Linked DNA regions of Homo sapiens: region 1 is linked to region 2. The links are contacts of gene promoters, found by promoter capture Hi-C in blood cells and fetal thymus (Javierre and others, 2016). All regions are on one chromosome and are shown on one strand. Each heading gives the region's core, a stretch centred on a gene start or on the middle of the fragment in contact. The rest is flanking DNA. Distances are from core to core; before and after follow the strand shown. Region 1 overlaps DSTN (destrin, actin depolymerizing factor). Region 2 holds the start of NXT1 (nuclear transport factor 2 like export factor 1).

Region 1 (4,858 bases), core at 2,359-4,858, 5.8 Mb after region 2:
GCTGCAGTTGAGCTCCAGCCTGGGTGGCTGCAAGAGAGTCTGTCTCAAAAAAAAAAAAAAAAAAAAAACAAAAGAAAAGAAAAGAAAAAGAAAAGAAAGAAAAAAGAAAGGAAAAAAAGGAAAGGAAAGGAGAAAGAAAAGAAAGTCAGTCATGTTTACTTGTTTTGCATGTTTGTTTTTTAGACTTTTAATTTTTTTTTTTTTTTTTTTTTTGAGACTGAGTCTCGCTCTGTCACCCAGGCTGGAGTGCAATGGTGCGATCTTAGCTCACTACAACCTCCGCCTCCTGGGTTTAAGCGATTCTCCTGCCTCAGCCTCCTGAGTAGCTGGGATTACAGGCACGTGCCACCACGCCCAGCTATAGACTTTTAATTTTTTAGAGAAGTTTTAGGTACACAGCAAATTTTAGCAGAAGTGCATTGTTCCCATATATCTACTGTGTGTGCTTTTACATTTTGGCTAGAAGAACTGCCAGGAAAGAGAGGGGTAAGTGTAAAGTGAAGGACATTAATCTCCACAGCCCTTGGCAAAGAAGGAAAGAACTCTGTCCTAAGTCACTCTACATTCTACCACTACCAGGGGCCTAAAAATGGCAGGTGGATAGAATTAACAGAGAGTATTGAACTTCTGGTAATTAGCTGGCTAAGGGGCCTGGAAAGAAATTTATGTGCCAGAAAAGAGAAATATTACTCCTCAGTATGAGGTTCTGGTATTGATAATCATGTTCTTGTTTTTTGAGACAGGGTCTCCCGCTGTGGCCAGGCTGGAGTGCAGTAGTACAATCATAGCTCACAGAAGCCTCTAACACCCAGGCTCAAGCAATACTCCCACCTCAGTCCCCCAAATAGCTAGGAGTATAGGCACATGCCAGCATGCCCAGTTAATTTTTATTTAATTTTTTTGTTCAGACAAGGTCTCACTATATTGTCCAGGCTGGTCTCCAACTCCTGGCTTCAAGCAATCCTCCTGCCTCAACCTCCCAACGTGCTGGGATGACAGGTATAGGCCACTGTATCCAGCTGATTTTTTTTTTTTTTTTTTTACTGCTACATTTACTTTATGGCTCTGCAAATAAGCTTAGGTGAAGATGGTAAGTATTTACAGAATGGCCAGGTTTGCAGGATGCAGCATGCGTGTAAAAACCTAAGATGCAATAAACATATGAAAAGAGTCAGCTCACTAGTAATCAAAGAAATGCAAAATAAAATAATGAGAAACCATTTCACAACCATCAGACTGGCAAAGGTTTCAAGTCTCTTATTAAGTGGTGAAAGGCAATGTAGAAACAAGCTGTTAATGATGAGATACAACCAGAACGAACCAGTAGTAGAGTAGAAAATATGTATGCTCCAATCCAGGGCTTCCGCTTCTAGATATACACCATGGAGAGATACACACTGGGGCTAGAGAAGTAATATATAGCAATATATGACATGGAAATTGCCTATTATAAAAACTTTAAATAGACCAAAAAAAGGCAAAAAATTAGGAAATGGCTGAATGTCTATCAACAGGGGAATGGATAAACTTGCACAATCATACAAAAGAACACAATTCAGCAGTTGAAGAACCAAAGCTACAAATAAATCCAAAAGCTGCCCTCCCCTGGGAAAAAAAAAACCACCCCCACAAAGTTTAATTTTTTCTCACAGAGCTGCAAAAGGATACATGAAGCACAGTATTTACGTAAGTTTTAAAAGCACATCAAGGCAATACATATGAATGATTAAGTAGCTAAAAGTATGGAACTATCAATGAATATCAATTTCAGGTGACTACTGTGAACTTTACCTGAGCTCTGTGTTCTCAGAAAGCAGTGATGGTTAATCCACCCCACCGTTTTGTGTTCTGGGAAACAGGTAACTGCAAAGAACTGGCCTGTTGCATATTTTCAAATAAGGCAATCAGGAATGCTCTCCTAATTGCAATAGCCTGAATAAAATCATCTCCTTAACCAGCCAGGATATTATGTCTTTGACACAGGAATGGTTATAACTCTAGGGAGGGAAGGGAGTGGGATGAGGAAGATGATGCATATTTAGCTGTAATGATAACATAAAAACCTGAAATATGGCAATAAGATAGCCCTGTTTTTCCTGTACAAAAGGATCTGTTATTCTGTGTACTTTTCTGCTTAAAATGTTTCAAAATTATTATTTTAAAACTTGGAGTTGGAAAAGGTGATTTGTCTCAAGTCAATTAATCCTTTACAATCTGTTTTCTCATATGTTAAATAGGCATGTGAATACATGCCCAACCTATTTCACTGGGTTGTAGTGTTTTTGCTAATCACCAAGTATTAGAATACTTGAATACTGCGCCAATTAGTTCAGTCTGTGAGACCACAGTCCAGATTAGGATAAGGTTAAGGGTTAGATTATCGTGCAAACCTTTTAACTCTACTTCAGGGGCAAGACTACACTCTTACTTTCCAAGAAGCATAAAAGATACTCTGGTTACAAGAGGAGCTAGGCAAGTCTAGGTGTGATGTCTCAATCCATATCCAGTAGAACTACTGAGCAAATAACCTTAGTAACTTGATGATGGGCTACTAAACAATCTCTGTATAAGGAGGCTGGCACACCCAGTACACACACACACACGTTTTGTTTGGGGTCTGTAATTGTGGTTCACGTGGAGGCAGACGTTGTTTGTTTTTTGTTGGAGGAGACATCTGAAAACATCTAATCTCATCCTGAAGCGCCCAGCTGGTTTCAAACTGCTTTATTTCAGGTGCTTCTAAAAGACTTGGTGAGTACAAGGAAGTGATTCTGCTAATTTAGAACAAACCCATCGGTAGTTAAAATTTAATCTTAAAAGAAACTTGGAACCAAGCATCTAACCAAAAGAGCTAAAAGCAAAGTGCTAGACTCTGGGATAATACCCACAATATTCTCTAATCACTGAACTAAACAAAGATGCTCCTGCGCTCATAAGGCTAAAAACAAAAATAACCTTTAAAAATGGGGGGTCTATAATCTGAACTCTAAGAGTAACTTGTAAGGTCTTCTTGATCTCCCTAAAGCCAACAATTTTGAAGCGTATTTGGAAATCGCTCATTTCTAATTTTTATTTCTCCCACTCCTCACAAGAACCAGGAAATATAACAGACCCTTCCTTCCTTGAATTTAGTTAAGCTTTAACTAAAACTAAGCATTTAACTAAAGGTAAAATGTTTGGTCTCTTATTTTCAAACAGAAAAATAAAGTCTGTATTAGCCACTCAATAAAAAAGCATAATGTCAAATCAGAAGTCTCTAGAGCAGACCCTAGTCAGCTTCAAAGCACTTTCACAGAGTGAATGGTCTTAAGCGTACCATAACTCAAAGCCCCTAGATTAAGTCTTTCAGTATAAAGTAGCATATACATTTAAAATGTTATTAAATTTCTAATAATTAGATATTAAAAAGACTCAAGATGCTGATACTTTGTAGCTTACAGCATTAAACCAAAGAAGAACCAAAAACTGAACAGTATCAAATCCCTATTACATACATATCTACAGTCATCAAGAAACTACCGGTTTATCTTTTCTTTCACTAAGGGGCCGCCTGCATGTTCACGGAAGTTGTAGTAACTTAAGAAAACCAAAACTGTTATACAGTGAAAACAGTTTGTATGCAGATAAGCTGGTACCAACTGCTTCTAGACAGATGCAATTACAGTGTAATATTTCTAGCAAAGTCTGGTAAGGCTACGCCTGCAAATCACTGACCAAAAATGGTAACAGTGTGTGCACACTAACGAAAACGACAAAATGTTCCAACTGATAGTTCAGTTGAGAATACGTTTTTAAATAGCTAATTAGAGTGACAGTGTAAAGGGGGAAAATATGTAAATTAAGCAAAATGTCCATCATATAGAATATACTAATGAGCACCTGTTTACTTTCTGGTGACTCCAGTATTTTAATGGTTTTTAAAGCTCTTAAATTTGGTTGTATCAGCATCCCAGCATCATGCCCACACCTTGCGCACCAAGTTCTGGCAGAGTCCAACTGTCTACAGGTCAGAAAAAAAATTCTAACCATACACGGACAGATCGGGCAGGGAAGGGTTAAAACAGACACTGCCAAGCTTGACAAGCACGACGAGAGTGCTGCTGGAAGCCGATTGCCAGATAAAAAGAAAAAAACAAAGGAGCTGCAAGGCCACCCCGTTCTAAATCATGCCAGGATCCTGCTCGTTAGCGATCATTCCGTGCTCTAGGACTGTTCCATAAAGGCTTTATCTTCCTTATTGAGATGGACAGACCTCAAGGGCTGGAACGCGCACAAGTCACCAAGCGCCTCAGCGCCAGCTCTGGGGAAACCCACGCCAACAAGGACGGTGGCCGGATTCCGACGCCCCCCGCCCCCCACTCCCCGGCCTCGGTGTGCAGACCCCCGGATGGATTTCACAGAGCGGGTGGGGGCGCTCGACCCCAGCCAGTTGTTGCAAGGCCGGGTCTGGAGACACCCGCAGAGGCCACGCTCAGGGCGGCGGCCTCGCCCCAGCTGGGAGCTGCGCAACAGCCGCGGATCCACCCCGGGGCGCGGGGGCCCAGCCAGGACGGCGGGAGACGGAGGCCCAGAGACCCCCCCTCACCCGCAGCCCGGACACTGCAGCCGGACCGGGTCCCTCCCCGGGCTGAGGCACGGCTCACCCCCTTAGCCCCGACTCCGCGGCGCCCCAGAGACACACTGCTCCCGGCCGCCTCGGCCCACGCCTCGGCCTCCCTCCTACTCACCATCTTCGCCGCGGCGGTCGCAGGGACGCGGGGGAGGGAGCCGGCGGGCAGCGAGTATGCAGACCGTCCTCCTCACGGCTGCGGGACCGAGAGACCCAGCGCTGAGCTGACGCGGCGGCGCGAGCTTACCC
Region 2 (4,231 bases), core at 712-3,211:
ACTATAGCTGAAATGTCACATTGTCCCCCAAATAAAAAAGTCCAAAAGCATTTAAAAAATTGACATTTACTTTTTTCAGGGTACAGGTACAACTGTTATGTTCTTTTCTCCATAATTAAAATATTTCACTTAAAAAAAAGAGGACATTACTAAAATAGAGGACATTACTAAAATAGTTTATACTTACAAACTTAGTGAACAGTTTTTTTTCATTTCAAAAAAAAGACTTTTTTTTTTATAATGATTAGCTTATGAAATAAATAAAACATTCCACATAGGGCTGGAAAGAGCCAGGTACTTATAACGGCTGCAAAGATGGTGCATTGCCTCTGGTAAAGGGCTGGCTGGGAGGGAAGCTGTCCTAAAAATGAGCAGTTAAGAGCCAATTTCAGACGTGGGTCTTTCCACGCCCTCCACAGACCTCATAGTTAAGCCTCAACTGTACTCTGGACTGAGTACAGTGGTCCCTCGGTATCTGTGAGGAACTGGATTCAGGACCCCCGAGGATACCAACACCTGCAGATGCTCAAGTCCCTGATAAAATGGTGTACTGTTTGATATAACCTATGCGCAGCATCCTCCTATATACCTTCATCATCTGTAGGTAACTTATAATACCTAATACAATGTAGATGGGATGTAAATAGTTGTTATACTGTATAGTTTAGGAAATAATGACAAGAAAAAAAAAGCCTCTACATGTTCAGTACAAACGCATTTTTCTTTTTCTGAAGAATATTTTTGATTTGAGGTTGGTTGAATCCACCCCACGCGGAACCCACGACTAAGAAGCGCTGTGTTTGCTAAGGGCTTCACACAAATTACCTCATTTAAATGTTACCACAAATGGATGAAAAAGGTATTACTATAACAATTTTACAAATGAGAAAAGGGAAACCTAGGGCTGGATCAAAGTAACGACGGTTAAGTACACTCCTGATCTATCGTTTACAAGACTAGACTGAGGGCTGAAATTTTGTCAATACAACGCTGTCCTTGTACTCGCGTAAGCAAGTCTCCATGAGCACAACTCCAGGACTGCTAGAGTGGGAATTTTCTCCCAGGGACCCCATTTCTCTTTGGCTGGAATTCCCGATCTCCACCTCACTCCTCCTCCCTCCATGGCACCAGTCCCCCCATCATCTCAGAAATGCCCCTCTTCTCCGCCCCTGGCTGTCTTTCCAAACACAATCTAACAACTGGCCACGCCCCCACACACCATAGAAGGACCATCTCCACTTACGGTTTTCAGCTACCTATGAGGTCGTCAGTCCCGCTGTCTGTGTCAAATCAGAAAAAGAACCTGACCGTGAGGACTAGAGTAAGAGGCTGTGAAGACTGCCGCCTCCTCGCACGACCCACACCGTCGAGTGTCCGGAGATGGACGGGAAAAGCTACCACAGTGGCATGGCCTTATTTCCTGTGAGTCGCCTTTAATTCAAACCTAGACAGACGCACGCCCTGCCCGGCCCTCCTCAGACCCGAGAGCTGCGCTGTGAGGGGACGCGCCTCCCCTCGTTGATGAGAATTCGCTGCCACGCTTTTTGCACAGGCGAGAGCCTCACCGCGGCGGCAACTCTACCACGTGGACAAAGGCACAGCCGTGTCTCATTCTCGACAATGGAGGAGGGCGTGGGGTATGCACTAGGGGCTGTCTCGGGGGTCAGACCGCCGGGGGACGGCAACGTACCTGCGCGGCGACGTCCAGGGTCAGCGCGGGCCGCGGCCCCCACGGTCGGGACGCCCCCCGCGTGGGACGCAGTTCCACTGAGGGGCCGGCCGCGGAGGTCACAAGGTGGGCCCACCGAAGCCTCTGGTAGGGGCACGGGAAGAGCCGCCTTTCTCTCCTCCTCCTCCTTCTTGGAGGCTTACTCTGGGTCACCGGGGCCCCAGAGCCGGGGGACTTTCCGGCGCAGTTCCGCGGCTTCCCGCGCGCGGCCAGCCGGTCTCCACGCAGACGCGAGCGCCCCGGCGCCGCCCTCTCCCGCATTCCCGTGACGGGCAGCGAAGTCAGCCAGTGGGACTGCGGGCCGGAAGGCTAACTCCGCCCATGTGTGGCTTATAAGAGGCGGTAGCTTCCGGGAGTGTCACTTTCCCAGAAATCCCGGCAAATCCGCCCTAGAGTTTTCGTTGGTCCAACCGGGCCACAGACTCCGGCCCGTCTGGTTAGGTGGGATGCCTGATTGGGCCAAACCTCTTAGGTCCCGCACCTAGAGCGGGGAGTAGCGTCTGCTTTTTTTTCCGCTGAGCGGAGGCCGCTAGGCTGGAGAGGGAGGGGAAGGTGTGTGGGGTCGGGTGAGATGCTTTCCCCTCGTCCCGCATGCGCCTGTATTGGAGTGATTTCAGTTAAAAGTCTCGTGAAACGTCACCAGTGATGTAGTCACGGCCAGCAGCAGCTGCCTGACCCCGCCGAGGCCTTCCGTCTGGCAACATGTGGGGCGCCGCAATGCTTGAGGCCACGGCGAGGGCAACGCCGGCCGCGCCCCGTGGAAACCGCGTGGCGGAGTGCTTGAGCCGATCGCGCTCTTTAGGAGTTAGGCCACTTAGAGGCGACATCTTGGTGGACACGGAGGAAGCCAGTTTTAGTCAGATGGGAAAAGTAGCTAAAAGTGGGAGGAGACTGGGGCGAGGGTGGGACGTGGGGGAGGCGGGGGCGTGACGGCGGCTCTCCACTGCCCTGAGGCTTGAGGGGCCCCGGGAAACCCGGGCCCGGCTGGGGTTGGGACTCTGTTCTTCCGCGTTCATAGCTACGATTCAGCTGTTCTGGAATGAGAACTGGATTTTTACTGAACTTTACGAACAGGCTCAACAGGATGTAACCATTCAGTGTGGAGGCATGAGAAACTATAGCTTGTAAATTAAAAGAAAAACCTCATTTCTTTAGACAACATTTTCAGCTCCATCTGCTGGTCTGAGGCTGAATAATTAATTGAAAAGCCAGGAGAGAAATGGGGCTAGATGAAGTGAGGTAGTTTAACCTGTGCTTTCTTGGCGTCCCGTCGGCTCCCTTTGCTTGCATTCCTAAGAGAATCTTGGTCTCAGATTTCAGGACAAGTGGAAAACAGTTGGGCTATTTAGTATAGGCCACCCCTTCCCCCCCGCACCCTCTCCCCCCACACACTTCAGTTAAGTAGGTGGAAAGTTTGGATTATTAAAAAGACACGTTGGAGGCTGAGCAGAGAGTGTGAAAGAGCATTTTCGGGGCTTTGTGAACTAACATGGCCTTTTGAACCCCAAGGCAGTGATACTTGGATTGATCTAAATCAGCGTGGATGGAATGGAAGTGGGAATGCGTTGATTTACTGCACGCTCAGTAGTTTGGATGCTGTGCTGCTTTTGTTTCCTGTATAATAAGCCCCTTTAATTTGTTTCACATAACTTATTGGGGGAGGTACCATTATTTCTGATTTTATAGACAAGGAGGCTGACAAAGAACCATCCTGGTGTCACAGGGTCGATTCATACCTAGAAAAGTATGAAGATTCATACCTAGAAAAATTAGAAGAACATTAATGCAGCTCCAAGGCCTTTTAAAAATGCGAGACTTTAGCTTTGAAAGGCAGCTGTTCTGCCTTTTAGGTTTGTGGGGTCTGCCTTTTAGGTTAGGGTCCTTTTAGGTTTGTGTCTCCAGCATATAAAATTGTGCCTGACCCAAAGCAAGGGCTCAATAAATACTGTTTGAATGAACAGACAAACCTGGGTTCAAATCATGCTCCTCAACTGCACAGTTGTGATGATCTGTCCTCAACACTCACTCCCTGCTCTCTTTGGAAGCAACCCTGGCTTTTATTCCCCCTATTTGTAGCAGGACAAGCCGCAGACAAAACCCCTCAGAAACCAAGTTAAAGAAGGAAGGGCTTTATTCGGCCAGGGAACTTCAGCAAGACTCACGTCTCCAACAACCGAACTCCCCAAGTGAGCAATTCCTGTCCCTTTTAAGGGCTCACAACTCTAAGGGGGTCCACGTGAGAGGGTCATGATCAATTGAGCAAGCAGTGGGTATGTGACTGGGGCTGCATGCACAGGTAATTAGAACGGAACAGGACAGGACAGGGATCTTCACAGTGCCTTTTTTATGCAAACAACCAATTAGGTCAGGAGTCAATCTTTACCAGGCCCAGGGTGTGGCGCTGGGCTGTCTGCTTGTGGATTTCATTTCTGCCTTTTAGTTTTTACTACTTTTTTCTTTGGAGGCAGAAATTGGGCATAAGACAATATGAGGGGTGGTCTC

What was found. The method cuts DNA at HindIII sites, captures the fragments that hold promoters and counts their contacts. A CHiCAGO score of 5 or more calls a contact.
Region 1: a fragment that was not itself captured here is called in contact with the fragment with the promoter of NXT1 in region 2 in 1 of 17 cell types (non-activated CD4 T cells); the score reaches 6.8 in non-activated CD4 T cells.

Annotation. Positions count from the first base shown.
Region 1 is chr20:17,570,081-17,574,938 of GRCh38, reverse strand. It overlaps DSTN (destrin, actin depolymerizing factor), which reads right to left. Exons shown (of 4, transcript NM_006870.4): 1 at 4,728-4,858. The coding sequence starts at 4,730. Among named protein-coding and RNA genes, the nearest start is that of DSTN, 2.4 kb to the right of the region's middle. RefSeq lists silencers at 4,424-4,713, 4,734-4,858. The HindIII fragment of the contact is 938 bases long and covers 3,140-4,077 here.
Region 2 is chr20:23,348,521-23,352,751 of GRCh38, reverse strand. NXT1 (nuclear transport factor 2 like export factor 1) reads right to left here and starts at 1,961. Exons shown (of 2, transcript NM_013248.3): 1 at 1,691-1,961. NXT1-AS1 (NXT1 antisense RNA 1) reads left to right here and starts at 1,285. Exons shown (of 3, transcript XR_937384.2): 1 at 1,285-1,422. RefSeq lists enhancers at 1,110-1,159, 1,216-2,087, 2,026-2,320, 2,240-2,379, 2,088-2,960 and silencers at 1,650-1,919, 2,540-2,669. The HindIII fragment of the contact is 12,471 bases long and covers 1-4,231 here.